Linked DNA regions of Homo sapiens: region 1 is linked to region 2. Evidence: promoter capture Hi-C in human tissues and cell types (Jung and others, 2019). All regions are on one chromosome and are shown on one strand. Each heading gives the region's core, a stretch centred on a gene start or on the middle of the fragment in contact. The rest is flanking DNA. Distances are from core to core; before and after follow the strand shown.

Region 1 (3,410 bases), core at 528-3,027, 170 kb after region 2:
CTGGCTCTCCACCTGTGACACTGGTTGCTTAGAGTTTGTGGAAGCCAGGGCGCTCACCTCTACCTCCGGGCCTTTGCACCAGTTCTTTTTTTGTTTTTTGAGACTGAGTCTCACTCTGTCTCCCAGGCTAGAGTGCAGTGGCGCGATCTCAGCTCACTGCAACCTCCACCTCCTGGGTTCAAGCAATTCTCATGCCTCAGCCTCACGAGTAGCTGGGATTACAGACACCTGCCACCACGCCTGGCTAATTTTTGTACTTTTAGTAGAGATGGGGTTTCCCCATGTTGGCCAGGCTGGTCTCGAACTCCTGAACCTCAAGTGATCCGCCTGCCTCGGCCTCCCAAAGTGCTGGGATACAGGTGTGAGGTGAGCCACCACACCTGGCCCACCAGTTCTTCTTTTTTTTTTTTTTTTTTTTGAGATGGAGTCTTGCTCTGTCACCAGGCTAGAGTGCAGTGGTGTGATCTCGGCTCACTGCAACCTCTGCCTCCCGGGTCCAAGTGATTCTCCTGCCTCAGCCTCCCAAGTAGCTAGGACTACAGGCTTGCACCACCACGCCCAGCTAATTTTTTTTTTTCCTATTTTTAGTAGAGATGGGTTTCACATTGTGGCCAGGATGGTCTCCATCTCTTGACCTTGTGATCCGCCCACCTCTGCCTCCCAAAGTGCTGGGATTACAGGCATGAGCCACCGCACCTGGCCTCGCCCATCAGTTCTTTAGTCTGGTAGGAACACTCCCACACCCAATTCCCCACACAACCCCCATTTCTTCTCACTCTTTCACGCCCAATCCAGGGGTCCCTGTTGGACTTCTGTGATGGGGGCCCTCCTCCGTTCCATTTGGAAGCTTTGGGTCATGGCATGAGGCTATACCAGTGATGCCCTGTCCACATCAGCTGAGAGGTGTTCCCCAGGGATCGCCGAAGATCCTTCAGGGCAGTGGCCTCAGAGAGCTGATGGGTGGCACCGACAAGAGGTAGGACCCCTGGCCATTCCTGCTGAGAATCCAGCCTGTGTGGCTTTCATGGAGACGATCTGCATTATTAGCAGAAAAAAGCACGGGGCTTTAAAGTCAGACAGGCCTGGAAGGAGGGTGGAGGTTCAAATCCCATTTCTGCAACTTGAACCCACTCACTATAAGCTCAGTTTTTTGTTGTTGTTGTTGTTGTTTTTGAGACAAGAGTCTTGTTCTGTCTCCCAGGCTGGAGTGCAATGGCACGATCTCGGCTCACTGCAACTTCCACCTCCTGGGTTCACGCGATTCTCCTGCCTCAGCCTGCAGAGTAGCTGGAATTACAGGTGCCTTCCACCACGCCTGGCTAATGTTTGTATTTTTAGTAGAGACGGGGTTTTACCATGTTGGCCAGGCTGATCACAAACTCCCAACCTCAAGTGATCCGCCCACCTCGGCCTCCCAAAGTGCTGGGATTACAGGCGTGAGCCATCGTGCCCGGCCTCAGTTTTCATTTCAATAAAATGGAGTAACAGCATTTCCCGGGGAGGATTCTTGTAAGAGTTAGATATTGTAACCCTAGAAGTAGCTCCGTAGCTAGTTTTTTTAGGGAAAGGGAAAAGATTTGTATGGCCCAGATGCTGTCCTTATAATCCCACAGGTGGAGCCCTCCTCCCACAGAAATGAGGTCTTGTCTTCAGTTTTAAGAGTGAAAAACCAAAGTCCAATCTCTTTATCTCTGGTGGCAGAGATAAAGAAACTGAGGGTCAGAGAGGGCCAGGAGTTTGTCAGAAACCACAGGGCAAGTGGACAGCAATACTGAGAATGCAGACCCACGGATGCCCCCCGGGATAACTGTGCCTAGAATCTGTGGGTCCAATGGAGGGAAGAAAGCCCCCGAAAGGCGCTCACCTTTTCGGATGGGGTTTTCTGCCTTCTTCCTGTTGGACCTTGGGACTGGCCGGTCCCCTCTAGGGGAATCGGAGGCAGAGGCGCCTCCCGGAGTCCCCTGCGGGGCGCTCTGGAGCCTGTGCACCTGGAGGCCGGCAGACACTCCGGGCCTGCAGCGGGGACCCTCGGAGCTGGAGAGCTCCAGGAGGTGCAGGCAGCGCGCCACCTCCTCCAGACGGTACACGACGGGGCGTCGCGCCTCCAGGGCTAGGCCGGGCGGATGGAGGGGGTCCCCGGAGCCCGGGGGAAGTGGCGCAGTGGGCGTCTGCATCGGCCCGAAGGCACTTGCGCAGAGGTCCGGCAGGCAGCAGAGCACCTTGTGGGCGTGGTCGCTGGAGGCAGCGCCTGGCACCCCCATCTGGCACAGAGCGTCCCTGCCCTGCCCCCTGGGGCTGCGGAGGCCACCTCCACGCCCATTTGCCATCCCTGAGCCGCTTCTGCGACCTGTGGGGGTGGGGCGAGGGTGACTGGGCTTTCTCTTCCCCTTTCTTTGGAAGTTTCTATGACATCCCAAGCCCAAGAGCTGCTGGCATTGTGTCCTCCTCTCACCTGTCATCTGGGGGTCGGGGAGACAGACTGAACTCACCAAACCACAGAGCTCGCTGTGCACCCCTGAATGGGACACTATCTCTTCCTTCATTCAACAGACAGATCTGGGGCTGGGGTCAAGAGCCTCCCTCTTCCCATTGTGTGCTTAGGCAACTCTCTGAACCTCAGTTTTCTCATCTGTAAAATGGGAATGCTAAGAATAATACCATTTTAATAGTGTTTTCAGGATTAATAAGAAAACAACCAAAGTGTTTGGCATCCCGGAGGCCTGCAGCAAAGGGGCTGTTTCTGGTTTTGTTTTGTTTTGTTTTGAAACAGGGTCTCACTCTGTCACCCAGGTTGGAGTGCAGTGGAGCTGTGCAGCGGCGTGATCTCGGCTCACTGCAGTCTCTGCCTCCCAAGTTCAAGTGATTCTCCTGCCTCAGCTTCCTGAGTAGCTGGAATTATAGGTGTGCTGCATGCCCGGACATTTTTTGGATTTCTAGTAGAGAGGGGGTTTCACCATGTTGGCCAGGCTGGTCTCAAACTCCTGACCTCAAGTGATCCGCCTGCCTCGGCCTCCCAAAGTGCTGGGATTACAGGCGTGAGCCACAGCCCCCAGCTGGGGCTGTTTTTGTTGAACCCTTCCTCCACCCCTACCTTCCTGCCCCCTCAGCCCAAGGGAACCCCCTGCCTGGTCCACCCAGGAGCCCATCCCTGCTGAGCTTTGGGTTGAGCAGGGAGAATGGCTAAGGCCGAAGCTGGAACCAGCAAGAGACAGGCTCTGTGACCTTGGACAAGTAACTGCCTCTCTCTGGGCCTCAGTTTCCCCATCTGTAGAAGACAGGTGCTATACTGCAACAAGTCAGAGGGGCAGCAATGACCGGTACATTTATGGAGCACTTACTGTATGCTTCATGCTTCACCTGCTTCCTAACAACCTTATGAGGCCACCAGCCCCACGGTACAGGAAGCAAGG
Region 2 (3,718 bases), core at 728-3,227:
AACTTTCAGAGAGTGCCTGGTGCGAAGTAGCTGAGCCCCGAGGAAAGATAGGGTCTGGGGTAGCTGAATTCCTTCCCTAGCCGAACTCCAGGTTCAGCCAGCAATTTCCCACCCTGAGTCGACAAATGAGCACCATCGCCGGATGGGAACATGCGCTCACTGTCTGGTCCGGCCGCCACCCAGTGAAAGACCAACCTTTTCACCCCGTTCAGTGAAACCTCTTTAGCTCTGGCCGCCAAGGAATGCAGAACCAAACACACACATGCACACACATACACATACACACACATGCACACATACACCTACACACACATATACATACAACACACACACACACACACACACGAAGTCAGAGGCAGAGGGCAAGAAAGGAGAACACACAAACTGCCACTGGCTCTTTAAGGCTGAGACCCTGACTCTCAGAGTCCCCTGCACCCCACAACCCCTCCTGGCTTCCAGGGAAAGGTGGGGGCAACGTATGGAGGACCCAGCCCCACCTGCAGTCAGCAGAGCCTCAAAAAAGATGGTTGTGTGGCCCTGGACGGCCCCTGCCCTCTCTGGGCCTCAGTTTCCCATCTGTGGAATGAAGCACTGTTCTGGGCAGCTCTGAAGTCATTATTCTGCCTACCTCCCCCCGGACCCTAATTTTTTCAAGGACTCAGAATCTAACAGGCCATTAGGAGCTGGGGTCAGGCCCAACGCCTCTTGCTTCACCTTAGAGGTAACTCAGGTCCAGAGACTGGAAACAGCCTGCCCAGGTCACACAGAAAGTCAGGGGTGAGCCCAGCAGAGCCCTGGACAGAGAAGCCTGTCTTGGTATATCCCAGAGGAGGTCACTTCCCGGCTATGTGTCCTTGGGCTGGGCATGTCACCTCTCTGAGCCTCGGTTTCCATATCTGTACAATGGGGATAAGAGCCACCTCCCTGGACTGCTGTTAGGACAAGATGCGGCCATGCCTGGTGCACAGTGGGTGCCAATTAGCAGGTACCACGTGATTGCCCAGGACTCCCTGCCTGGGGACATGTCAGGCAGGGCTGGCCGTGTGTAAGTGTGGCAAATGCCCTAAGATGGTCCTGAGTCTGTGGAGGAGTGCAGATGCACCCCTGAGGCCTGGGGGCCCCAAGACTTGAAGCTAGGGGACCGGGGGCTGCCCCACCCCCACCCAGAGACTGGTGGCCTTTGGGGGAGGGGCGGCCCACGGAAACCTGGCTTCAATCAGTGGCCTTGTGGGGGAGGGGTGTTCTGGTTGGAGCACTGCACATGCCCCCGACCCCAGGGCCAGCCAAGGACAGGGACCTGGGCCCTGGAGGTCTGGATGGGGAGGGGGGTCCTGGGGGCACAATCCCCCTCCACACACACACACACACACAGAGCAGCATGGACACACAATATAAAGACACACAACACAGGCACACCGACTCACACAGCACTGAGACACCCAACAGCACTCTCATGGCCCATGCACACAATACACAGAGAACACACACGGACACACAACACATATACATACACAACCCCCTGACACACAGCCGATCCCTGCACACAGGACAATACCGTCCACATCACCCTCACACAGATCCTGGAAGCAACAGCCTGGCATCCACTTGCAGAAAAGTGGAAGCAACACACCCCCTACACCAAGGCCCCAGCCGCACACACACAACACTCCGGCCCACCCTGGCCCACCCCAGCACCGCACACGGGACTCAGATTCCACCACACTCATGCACACAACACCAAACACACACTCAAAGCCCACACACACTTAGAGAGGCCCCCCAGAGTGCTCCAACAGTCCCCAGTCCCTAAGCTCCAAGATAGCTCCAGGCTCTCAGGACAGAGGAGGGGACCCCAGGACTCACCAGTTCCTTGGCGTACAGGACTGGGTGCTCCCGCCGAATGGAGCGAGAGTGGGGGGCACCTGGGCTGGAAGAGAGAGTCCGTGCTGGTGCCCGGGGCTGCTCTGGGCTGGCGCCTGCCCGCCCTCCCTCCTCCCGTCCCTCCTCCCGTCCCTCCTCCTTCCTCCCTCCCCGGCTGGGCCGCAGGGCCAGCTTGATTTCATTAAGAGGGTTTGGGGTGGGGACAGGGGGAGGGGAGGGGCTACTCTCGGGCCACACGCAATCCCACCCTTGCTCACACTCTCGCTCTGGGGAAGACCAGATGCGGCACTTCCTCCCTGACCTCGGGTCCCCAGGGCAGGCTGAGACAGACAGACAAGGCTGTCCTGCAGCGCTCCCCCAGACAGTGAGCTGGGGTTCTGCCCACGCTGCTGCCCAATACCCTCCAAAGGGGACAAGCTCAGGGAGGTTCAGAGGCCTCTGGAAGTGGGAAGGAAAATTCCCCGTCCTTGTGTGGCTCAGGCTTCCAGGCTCAGGGTGCAGCGTGGGAGCTGGGATTCGTTTTAGAGACAGGCCTGATGGTGGGTCCGAGCCTGAGACAGGGAGCCCAACTCTGCCCTTCCCTCTCCAGACCTCAGTTTCCCATTTGTAGGGATGGGTGGGAAGCTTTCTGGGCTACCTCTGACTCTGATGTTCTGGGATCTGTGGCCTCACAATGCCCCCAAATGATAGTAGCTTGAATAGGAGTTGGAGCCCCATTTCACAGAGGGGGAAAGTGAGGCAGGGTGAGTTCTAATGGTTCAAGCAGGGTCCTGAGGTGAGTCAGTGGCAGGCCTTGGAACCGGGACGTCTGGCTGACCTGAGGAGTCCTGTGGATTAGCAGCCCCTTGCATTCATTCATTCATTCATTCATTCATGCATTCATTCGGCAAGTGCTCAATGAACACCTGCAGCAGGCCACGCACTGTGCTAAGCAAGTTCCAGAGGTGAATCAGGCACAGCCCAGCCTTGGGGAGCTCACAGACTACCAGGGAGAAGGACACCGAGGTAAATTACTTTTTTGCCAAACAGAAAGGGGTCAGGTCAAGGGCTCCGAGAACCCCAAGACAGAGAGATCAATCCCCCAAGGGAAAGAGGTAGGAAGCCATCCTGGAGGGCATGCCTGTGTATGAGCAGAAGCGGGCAAAGCAGGCCCTGGAAAGGCATTCCGCATGGAAGGACCAGCGTGGGTAAAGGTATGGTGGCTGGGAATGCCACCACGCACAAGCCACCGCAATTAGATTAGGCTGGAGCATGGACCAAAGAGAGGATCATGTAGTAAGGGTCAGAGATGTTGACAGGAGCCAGGCTAAAGTCTCGGAAGGTCGGAGGCAGTACGGAGCCAGTGAGGGTTTGGAACAGGGGAGTGCATGAAGGATGAGTGCGTGCTCTCTGGGTAGGAACCAAGCCTAGATTATCATTGTTCCCTGCAATGGTCCCAGCAGCCCTCGCTCACCCCCAGAAAACTGGGACAGTCATTTGCTTGGGAAATAAAATCAGAGACTTTCCCATCTTCTCTGGAAATCACCCCAAACCCTGCATCTTCGAGGGAACAGGGGACCATCCACCAATACTCGCACAGACACATTCATGCACACACATGTCCCAGGGGCAAGTGGCCACCCACAGACATGTTGTAGCAGCTGTGCCCGCTTTAAGGTGGCCAGGGGTGTTCCAGGCCTACCTGACCTGTCTTAGACCAGACATCGGGTGGTCAGGGGCAGCCAAACCTCCCCCAGGGCCCACCAGCAGGGGAAGAAGACCTTACCCAACATTCTGAGGGCTGCAGTCTGGGGACCTTGGGATGTCGAGGAGCAGGGACACAACCAACCCAAATAGA

Evidence for each region. The method cuts DNA at HindIII sites, captures the fragments that hold promoters and counts their contacts. A contact is called where the count stands out against the background at its distance.
Region 1: a contact is called between a fragment that was not itself captured here and the fragment with the promoter of TMEM119 in region 2, in 2 of the 25 tissues and cell types used here (bladder and spleen).

Annotation. Positions count from the first base shown.
Region 1 is chr12:108,766,700-108,770,109 of GRCh38, forward strand. No RefSeq gene overlaps it. Among named protein-coding and RNA genes, the nearest start is that of CORO1C, 37 kb to the left of the region's middle. RefSeq lists a silencer at 2,051-2,120. The HindIII fragment of the contact is 6,877 bases long and covers 1-3,410 here.
Region 2 is chr12:108,596,107-108,599,824 of GRCh38, forward strand. It overlaps TMEM119 (transmembrane protein 119), which reads right to left and starts at 1,978. Exons shown (of 2, transcript NM_181724.3): 1 at 1,864-1,978. The HindIII fragment of the contact is 8,836 bases long and covers 1-3,718 here.